2 separate regions of the Homo sapiens genome follow, and region 2 is linked to region 1. Evidence: promoter capture Hi-C in 16 types of primary human blood cells and fetal thymus (Javierre and others, 2016). All regions are on one chromosome and are shown on one strand. Each heading gives the region's core, a stretch centred on a gene start or on the middle of the fragment in contact. The rest is flanking DNA. Distances are from core to core; before and after follow the strand shown.

Region 1 (5,060 bases), core at 1,035-3,534:
TTATCAAAGTAGCTGAAACTTTTTTTGTCTAATTATCAAAAATTATAAGCAAACGATTTGCTAATACTTGAAATGCCCCCAAGATTTTGCTGTAATAATTTGTCATCTCAGTGCTTTTTCTGGAATGCAGGCCTCATGAAAAAACACTTGTAAAATGCCACATGGCATTCAACAATTAGTAAAATCTAGTTTCACCAATATGATGCACATTTATACATTTTGACATCTCTTAATGGAGTCTTAAGCAGTGTCTTAACTGGCAGCATTTTTTTTTAGTGCTACATACAATAATGGTACCTTTTACAACAAATGGCATCTTAGGATGCCATGGAAAACAGTAACTTGGTTTCTCAAAACCACAAGTTTCAGCCCAAAAAGATAGTTTGCCCAGCATCTCATTTTACAGATGATGAACATGAAAACCCAACTATATGATGTTCCCAACGTCATAAAATCAAGAGCAAAAGAGGCCAGGTGTGGTGGCTCATGCCGGTAATCCTAGCACTCTGGGAGGCCGAGGCAGGACTCTGCCCAGGAGTTCGAGATCAGCCTGGGCAACATAGGTCCTTTCTCTCTAAGAAAAATTATTTATTCAAAAAAAAAAAATCAAGAGCAAAAGAGACTGAACTCGGGTCTTCTGGCTCCCAATGATGCCCTTTCCATTAAACACCGTGCCTCCTGAAGTAAATCAAATGAAAAAAACTGCCTGGGTTTAACCAACATCTAACATACATAAAAAGCATATCACGCAGGAGCCGTGTGCGCTTATGGCCTGAATCAAAAGTCTCAGATTGACTCAAAAGTAACAATTTAACAATCCACTGTTGTGTTTGTCTTTGGTAAGATGTATAATGAACTACAGACTTCAGAAATGAGAGCTTCCCTTAAAGCAGGGATTTCATCCGGTGCATTACAATGACTCAGTACAATCTCACTTGCATCTTCTTCCCTCCCCACCATTCCCCGCAGGGGAAAGACCCCCGCAAGGAGAATGACAGGCCCACCTGGGGCCTAAACTCCATAGCTCAAACAAGGCTGGGCACTCATTTATCAGCACTAGAAACTTCGCACATCTTTTCCAGTCTAAGAACTACACAATTTACAGGTGGTTGGTATGTGAATCTCTCTCCTTGCAGGAAAAACTAAAGGAACCCGATGAACACAGTGACACCCGCAGTTTGTCAGCAGGACTCGCTAGCGATGGAGCGTCTGGGGAAGAAGCCCCACGGCGGAGGAAAAGGTACCCGAGACAACGACACGTTATCTGGGCTCCGGGGGTTGAAGCACCAGGCGACGACGCAGAGAGGCGTCGCACGAGAAGCCAGTGGACCTGCGACACGGCACTCCCCGTGAGGTCCCTTCAGCCACCCTCTCCATCCCCCAAGTGGGAAGAAGATGGGAGGTGGGGGCTGGACGCGCGGAGGCGGGGACTGGGGGGCCTGCCGGGCGGCGGTGGCGGCTCCGCTCGGCGGCCGCAGGAGGCCATTTTAGTTAAGGGGCCGCTGAAGGGCCCTGAGGCCTCCACGTCCCTACACCTCCGCCGTCTCTACCTCCCCCCTACTGGGGGCCGCTCCCCGCCGCGGGCCGGGCCGGGCCGGGCAAGGCGGGGCGGGGCGGGGCGGGGCGGGAGAGGCCGCCGGGCTGGGCCGGGCCAGGCCTGCAGCGGGCCGGGGCTCTGGGATGGCTGGGGACGGGCGCGGGGGCGTCGCATCGACAGGATCCGGACCGAGGGGAGAGCAAGGGGCGAACAGAGAGAAGGCAGGATGCCGTTACCTATATTGGGCCGCAGCCGCCGCCGCCGCCGCCCCGCTGTGGGTGAATCCAAAGTAGTTGCCGGTCGCCATTTTGGCATCTTCCCCCAGCCGGCTGGGCACTGCGGCGGGCACGAAGAGTCGGGTCCCATGGCGGGACAAGAGACACAGAGGAGCCGAGACGCCGAGGGAGGGCAGGGAGAGAAAGAGAGAGGCGCCGTGAGAGCAGCCCTGGCGGGGCCCAGGCCGCGGCCGCGCCGCCTCCCCCTCCCGCCTCGCACTCCCTCACTCACTCGCACGCCCGGGTGGCGGCCGCCGCCTCCTCCCCGGAGCCTGCCCCAACCCCCGCGGCTCCCCGCTGCCCGGGGCCAGGGAGGGGGCCGGGCAGAGGCCTCGCGGGCCACATTAGACTCACCATAGGTGAAAGAAACTACAGGGCATATGGGAATCATGGGCTCGGGCTGCTGCTGCTGAACTCTGAACTCTCACCCGCTGCCTCCCTCCTCTGCCCCGCTCCTCCTCAGCGGAGAACAGACCGCCGCCTCCGACCGCACTGCGCAGGCGCGCCTGTGCTCGGCATCCTGGGAGCTGTAGTCCCCGCCGTCTTCGCGGCTCCCCCGGGCGCGTGCCGGGGCCTCGGCGGTGCGGGCGCGGGGAAGCCCGCGGGGGAAGAGGGGCCTGGCCTTCTCCGAAGTGGTGGTGACGCCGCGCGGCCGCGGGGCGACGGGGGCGTGTGCCAGAAGCGCCTCGCCTGTCCTCTGGGGAGTCGGGGAGCGTGACCAGAGAGAGTGACGTCTGTTCGCCTTTTTCTTTGCTTTCCACTGGCTTCCTTAACTTTTGCATGTGCACTTATTCCCTGCCTCCCTGTCTTCCTCGCTCATTAATTTTTCATTGGAATTCGAGCTGGGCAATTTAGGATTTTTCCTTATTTCCTGCTTTCCCGCAGCTTTTCCCCAACCTCTGAAGTGCGGAGGGAGGGAGAAGGAGAGGAGAGAAATAGAAAAAGGATGGAGAGTGCTTTTCTGTTGGACTAAAAGCACACCCTAAACATCCCTCCCGGACATACCTCTTGCTATACCCTTTCCTCGACCTGCACCCACTCCCTGAGCCATCCGGCGTATATCGGTCACCCAGCAGGGTGTCAGGCAGTGTTGTAGGTGCTGGAGATACGGCAGAGAACAAAACAAAGTCCCTGTTCCCGTGGAGTTTACGTTCTAGGAGCGGGTATATGTCAGCCAACAGCCGGTAGCCAAAACACAGAAATTCTGTCTGATGGTGACTGGAGCTTCAAGCATAAATAAAGCAGAGTAAGGAAAATAAGGGTAAGGGAGGTGCTATTTCATGTAGAGTGTGGTTAGGGAGACCACTTGAAGGAAGGAAGGACAGGCCTGGGAGATGCCTGCAGGAAGAGCAGCAAGTGGAAGGGTCCAGATGAAGGAATGAATGTTCAAGAGCAAGAAGATCAGTCTGGCTGGAGTCAAGTGAGAGGGAGACCAGATCACGTGCCAGATCTTTAGTGGTAAGGACAGAACAGTACTTGCCCCCATGTAAGCATTTCCTCTTTCCCTCTGTTTCCTCGCTTTCTTCCCTTTAGTTTCTCAGTTCGTTTTCAACCATTCTCTTTCCTCTTCCAGTCCCTCTTCTGATCGTCTAGTTTCTCTGGCCTTATGTTTCGTGTCTTCCATCAAGTACATATGTACTGCCTGCATTTCACCTCTTCCTTACCTTCTCCATGCCCATCCCCCAGACTCCCTGCTCCTCATCTCTCCTCATTGTTGGATATGAACATTAAAAGGAAATGCTGGCCGGGCGCGGTGGCTCACGCCTGTAATCCCAACACTTTGGGCGGCCGAGGCGGGTGGATCACGAGGTGAGGTCAGTGGCCAACATGGTGAAACCCCGTCTCAAAAAAAAAGAAAAAAAAAAAAAGCCGGGCGTGGTGGCGGGCGCCTGTAGTCCCAGCCACTCAGAAGGCTGAGGCAGGAGAATCGCTTGAACCCTGGAAGCAGAGGTTGCAGTGAGCCGAGATCGCGCCCCTGGACTCCAGCCTGAGCGACAGAGCGAGACTCCGTCTTAAAAAAAAAAAAAAAAAGGAAAGGAAAAAAAAGAAATGCAAAGGGTGAATCAGAACCCACCCATGAAATTCAGGGCTTTGTCCTACTTTCTTGTGCCAGAGCAGAAACAATGCCTCAATTCTTTTTTGTGCCAACCTTGCTCCCCACGCCTCCTACAAAAGTACAGGCTCTCAGAACCTGTCTGATTTGTCCTGTTACTCATTTCAGAAAGAGAAAATGTAGAACCTTGGAGAAAAGTTAAGTGTCATTATTTTTGAGAATACTGATGTTTTCCCAGGCAAAAGTTATTTGTGCCCCAAGGATGTTGCTAGGAAGAAATACCTCCTACACATAGGACATTAGAACTGTATTTTAAAGGTATTTTGCCTTGAACTTCATTGAGCAGTCAAGCTTCAAGACACTGACTGTAACTGCTTTGATGAACCGGCTCTATTAGTTACTAGGCTATTTGAATAAAACTGGAGGAGAAAAGACAGGTGTTGATTACTTGCCTAAAAAGAGTCTGTGTAGGCCAGTTTTATGCTTGTTTGCTTGGCAGGCCTTTGGAGGCCGGCGTGCTACTGGCACACCCCAATGAGCAAGCACATAACTAGAAAGAGGAAGACGGGGCCTCTCCCCTGGTTCTTAGGGGTCAAAGTAGGTGTGGCAGTAGTGAAAATTATTTACAACAGCACTCTCAAAGATGCAGCCTGTAGGAACAACCTTTCAGTATCGCACCTACTTGCCCTTGACTTGGGCTCCTTTAAGGAAGGAGTTTTGGAGGGTCTTGAATATTTTTCCTGGGCATCTAGTAGTGGAGTAACCTGAACATGTTATTTAACCTATCTGAACCCATACGGCAAGAATAACAATAACATCTTCCTGATGGGACTCTGGTGGGGTTTAAATGAGGCAGCATTTATGTAAGACATCTAGTTTTTTTTGTTTTGAGATAGGGTTTCACTCTGTCGCCCAGGCTAAGTGCAGTGTTGTGATCTCAGCTCAATGCAGCCCCAACCTCCTGGGCTCAAGCAATCCTCCCACCTCAGCCTCCTGAGTAGCTGGGACTACAGGCACATGCCACCATGCCCAGCTAATTTTTGTATTTTTTGTAGAGATGGAGTTTTGCCACATTGCCCAGGCTGGTCTCCAATTCCTGAGCTCAGGCGATCTGCTCATTTCGGCCTCCCAAAGTGCTGGGATTACTGGTGAGAGTGAGCCACCATGCCTGGCCTAACGCCTAGCTTTTTCATGT
Region 2 (5,060 bases), core at 1-2,500, 2.5 Mb after region 1:
ACTCAGATGATCCTCCCATGTCAGCCTCCCAAGTAGCTAGGGCTACAGGAACCTGCCATCATGGCCAGCTAAAAAACTGCAGTTACTTTTGCACCAACCTAAATATTTTCTTTGGAGATGGGGTTTTGCCATGTTGTCCAGGTTGGTCTTGAACTCCTGGATTCAAGTGTTCCACCTGCCTCAGCCTTTCAAAGTGCTAGGATTGCAAGCGTGAGCCACTGCATCCAGTTAAAAGGAGTAAGTTTAGTATCTCTGAACTTGTGTTTTCTTTTTTTTTTTTTTTTTTTTTTTGGAGACAGAGTCTCACTCTGTTGCCCCGGCTGGAGTGCAGTGGCACGATCTCAGCTCACTGCAACCTCCACCTCCTGGATTCAAGCGATTCTCCTGCCTCAAGCTCCCGAGTAGCTGGGACTACAGATGCAGGTCACCGCACCCAGCTAATTTTTGTATTTTTAGTAGAGACAGGGTCTCACCATGTTGGTCAGGCTGGTCTCAAACTCCTGGCCTCAGGCGATCCACCCACCTCGGCCTCCCAAAGTGTTGGGATTACAGGCGTGAGCCACAGCGCCTGGCCCTTGTGTTTTTTTTTGAGGTGAAGTGTAACATTTTGAAAGTTCTAAAAACAATGTGCTTGTAGCAGTTGATAACTAGCCCCACATACTGTCTCGGGGGATTCCTTTCCAGCAGGGTAGAAAGAGGTATTTGTACCTGCCATTAAACCTGTTGTACTGATTGTCACTCATCCCAGTATTCCTATAGCTGCTTTTAAAACACATGCACTGTCTCCAGAAGCATTGCTTGTTTTGGCAAAGAAGACATAGTCACATGGGCAAAAAGTCTAGACCGTGTCTAATCATCTCCCTCCATCATTGGTGTCAGACTCACTTCCCACCATCATTGTCCCATGCAGGCTGATGCTGCCAATATAGGGGCTTTAAACTTGTCTGGCCCAGAGTATCTTTGCTGAAGTGGAAGAACTTTATCTTAGGGGAACAATGATGAAGAAAGAAGTATTAAAACGGATACCATTATTATAAAGGAGGGAGGAAACAACACGGGAGAAAATGGGAGTAGAATCAGCAAGGGAAAAAAAGCAAAATGGGCAATCAGAGAGAAAGGAGGCCAAAGGATGAGAATGGCGCTGTGAGAGTCATAAATGGTATTACCATATGACCTCAGGGAGAAATGACAGAGTACTAGGGGAAGTGGAAAGAGGCAGAAAAATTAGAAACAAGCAAGAAAAAGGTCAACAATGAAGGAGATTAAAAATTTTTTTTTATTTGGAAATGACACACTTAAAGGTAAATTGCAAGAAGAGAATATAGTGTGTCTGATTGACCTGTTACTAACGTTTTGCACAATTTGCATGTCCTCTTTCTCTCTACACGCTCAACACACACACAGTATTTTTCTGAATAATTTGAAAGTAACTTACATATATAGTGTTCCTTTACCTCTAAATACTTCACTATATCTTAAGAATAAGGTTATTCTCGCTGGGCGCAGTGGCTCACGCCTGTAATCCCAGCACTTTGGGAGGTTGAGGTGGACAGATCACCTGAGGTTGGGAGTTTGAGACCAGCCTGACCAACATGGAGAAACCCCGTCTCTACTAAAACTACAAAATTAGCTGGGCGTGGTGACGCATACCTGTAATCCCAGCTACTCAGGAGGCTGAGGCAGGAGAATCGCTTGAACTCAGGAGGCGGAGGTTGTGGTGAGCCAAGATCGTGCCATTGCACTCCAGCCTGGGCAATAAGAGCAAAACTCCGTCTCAAAATAAAAAAAAAAAGTAAGGTTATTCTCTTATGTAACCATGCTACAGTGACCAAATAAAAGAAATTATTAACATTGATATGGTATTTTTATCTAATTTACTACCTGCATTCCAATTTTGCCAATCAATTATTTATTAATATAGAATTTTTCTCCAATACAGAATGCAGTCTAAGAACATAATCTGGAACAGCTTGTGTTGTCTTTTATGCTGTTTACATTTTAGAAGTACACTGTTTTCACTTTTTTCATAGAATTCTTCTCATTTTGTCTTTGTGCATTTCCTCATGATTAGATTCAGGTTATGCAGCCCCAGGAGGGACGCCGCACAAGCATGTTGTGCTCTCAGGGATTCATAGCTGGAGACACGTAAAGTCCTTCTACCCCTCATTTGTCGTGATAATTTTCATCACCCAATCAAGGTGTCATCTAATTTTACTACTATACTACTAATTTTACTATAGAGTTAGTATTTTTTCCCTTGCAACAGGTTTTCCCTTGTAACATGTTTAATCTGTGAGGAGACACTTTAAAACTATGCAGATATCTTGCTTCTCATAAAAGTTTTCCTCATAGCTTTAGCATCTGTTGATGGTTTTAGCTTGCGTCAGTCTTTTTTATGATGGTTGCAGAATGATGCTTTTCCAGTGCCAGTACCCCCTCAAGTTTTTATCAGTTAGCACTTGGCCTTCTGCTGTAAACAGGAGCCTTCCCTTTTATCCATTTATCTATTATCAGTTTGAATTTATTTCTTTTTTTCAGTGTTTTATAATTCATTACTGACCTTTTCATGCTCAAATTTTTCCAGAATTGGTTAGTGAGCATTCCTTCAAACCACCCTTGTGTCCTTTTGACATGTGCTTATAACTTTTTTGGAGGACTTACTTTCAGACACAGGATCTTCCATTATCTCCAGGGCAGCTTGGTCTCAAGGAGAATTTTAGTAGGAAAGAAAAACAGCAACTAAAACTATAATACCAAAAGCCTGAACAGATGAGATGAAGTAGATAGTTGACAAAGTTTCCTGCTTTTTAGTTGATATAACTCTTGTAGCTTATGTTGTCAACCCTGTTTTGTTGAATGCTTTTTAGTTGCCTGTAGGTGTGCTGAGACAGACATTGCCAGCAGGGTTTTGAACACAGGGATAGAGATGTGTCTGAATGTACGTTACGGTGGTGAGAGTGAGAAAGGAGACCTCTCCTGAGAAGGTGAAAAGCAGCTGTTGAAAAAGCAAGAGGCAGTAAACTGCTCTTGTATTTCAAGCCTTCCCACCACCATTTCTCTAGTCCAGGGGGCTCTTCCTTTTAACATTAAAATGTGTGTCTTCTAATTTCCCAGTGATCCCTCCAAGTCTGTGGGATGGCCTGGAATGTAAAAACACTTAGCAAATACTTAGTGATTAAAAGAAAACAATGGCGGAAGCTTTAAGAATTGAAAAATCAAAATAATAAGTAGAGAATTTGTCCAAACCTCCCCCTGCCGACATTCCCCCATCCCCAGAAAGGAAGAAAATGTATGTAGATAAAAGGACAGAGAAAGACAGGGAAAGCTGTGGTACGGAAAGAAAGAGTGTGGCCACGAGCTTCCAGTATGCTCACTGCCAAGGAATCCTGACACGTTCTGTTTCTCTGTATAAAATCATGAACAAATAAAAAAAAAGAAAAAAATAAATAGAATCAGAAACGTTTTGCTTAGTGGGAAAAAAGCTAATTTTATCTTGGTTGCAGTTATCCAGCAACATTATCTGGACACGTGAACTAATTTTAGCGCAGCTGCTCACGTCAGATTGCTCTTTCAGCATGAAGAATCACGAGAAGTCAAAGAAGCATCGGGAAATGGTGGCCTTGCTAAAACAACAGCTGGAGGAGGAAGAAGAAAATTTTTCAAGACCTCAAATTGATGAAAATCCATTAGATGACAATTCTGAGGAAGAAATGGAAGATGCACCAAAACAAAAGTACTTCTAAATATTAAATGTCACTAGAAATACTTATCACATTCAGAGATTGCATTAAAAGGTTTTTTTTGAGATGGAGAATCACTCTGTTGCCCAGGCTGGGGTGCAGTGGCGCAGTCTCAGCTCACTGCAACCTCCAACTTGTGGGTTCAAGTGATTCTCCTCCCTCAGCCTCCCAAGTAGCTGGGACTACAGGCACACACCACCACGCCCAGCTAATTTTTGTGTTTTTAGTTGAGACAGAGTTTCACCATGTTGGCTAGGCTGGTCTTGAACTCCTGATCTCAGGTAATTCACCTGCCTCAGCCTCCCAGAGTGCTGGGGTTACAGGTGTGAGCCACTGCGCCCGGCCTTAAAGGCTGTTTTATCCCAAGGAAGTTATTCTAACTAGAAAAGATTGTCTCCATATTTTCTAGTTAATGGAACTTTATAGTGTTGAAGTGGATACAGACGTCAACTATAATATTTATAGAACATATTATCACTATATTAAAAGCAGTTTTTATACCTGGCAGTTGATAAGCTAATTACTATCCATTGAACTACAGCCTTGTGTTATTCTCTAAAATGACAATGTGAATACTTTATTTTCCTTTTAATGCTTTAAGATATTAAATATTTTTAATCTTTTACTTCTGTTTTACTACTTTATCACTAGTGTTTCAACTTTTTTTTTTTTCCACTTACTCTTCACAGAGTCAAGTATTTGACATTTCGATTTATATTTGCTCTTAGGCTTTCTAAAAAACAGAAGAAAAAGAAACAGAAACCAGCACAGGTATGTTAGAAAGGTTTTGTTAACATTAAATGCCAACGATAAAGTTGCAGTGCTCTTATTTATTCAGTGTAGTCTGTGTTAAGGAGAGAAACTTATACTCCATAATTTTATGTTGATTGTAAGATTGATTAAAAAGGAATTAGAAATATTTTCCTTTTTTAGTGCTTCCCCCCCCTTGTATGTATGTAATAACAAACTTAATTATGACTGCCAGTGTGTTTAACAAGTATGCATGTAGAATTCCCCTGGTATGAATTAGCTGAATTTTCAGTATTTTAAAAATCTGAATACATCTCACAAAAGGCTTTTAAGTCAAGACAACAATTAAAATCTTGAAATAGGAAAATCTGGGATTGGTCATTTTTTTATCTCAGTTTATTCTGCCAACAACATAAACATTGCAAAAGGAACATTTGGTTAGAAACTTGTAATGATTGTGAGTCTTGAAAAAATGTTTCTATTTTTCTGAAGTTTAAGTAATTTAAATATTTCACAGCTGAAGTCCAAATTCATTCTCTGTCTTAAGGACTATTTTTAAATAAAATGGTA

The links. Contacts are between HindIII fragments. The CHiCAGO score rates a contact against its expected background, and 5 or more counts as called.
Region 2: a fragment that was not itself captured here is called in contact with the fragment with the promoter of ZFR in region 1 in 1 of 17 cell types (total CD8 T cells); the score reaches 5.9 in total CD8 T cells.

Annotation. Positions count from the first base shown.
Region 1 is chr5:32,442,456-32,447,515 of GRCh38, forward strand. ZFR (zinc finger RNA binding protein) reads right to left here and starts at 2,285. Exons shown (of 20, transcript NM_016107.5): 1 at 2,167-2,285; 2 at 1,774-1,873. The coding sequence starts at 2,203. RefSeq lists silencers at 1,328-1,667, 1,898-2,587 and an enhancer at 1,379-1,936. The HindIII fragment of the contact is 7,512 bases long and covers 1-4,214 here.
Region 2 is chr5:34,941,293-34,946,352 of GRCh38, forward strand. DNAJC21 (DnaJ heat shock protein family (Hsp40) member C21) reads left to right here. Exons shown (of 12, transcript NM_001012339.3): 8 at 3,575-3,733; 9 at 4,469-4,511. Among named protein-coding and RNA genes, the nearest start is that of DNAJC21, 14 kb to the left of the region's middle. The HindIII fragment of the contact is 3,892 bases long and covers 1-3,196 here.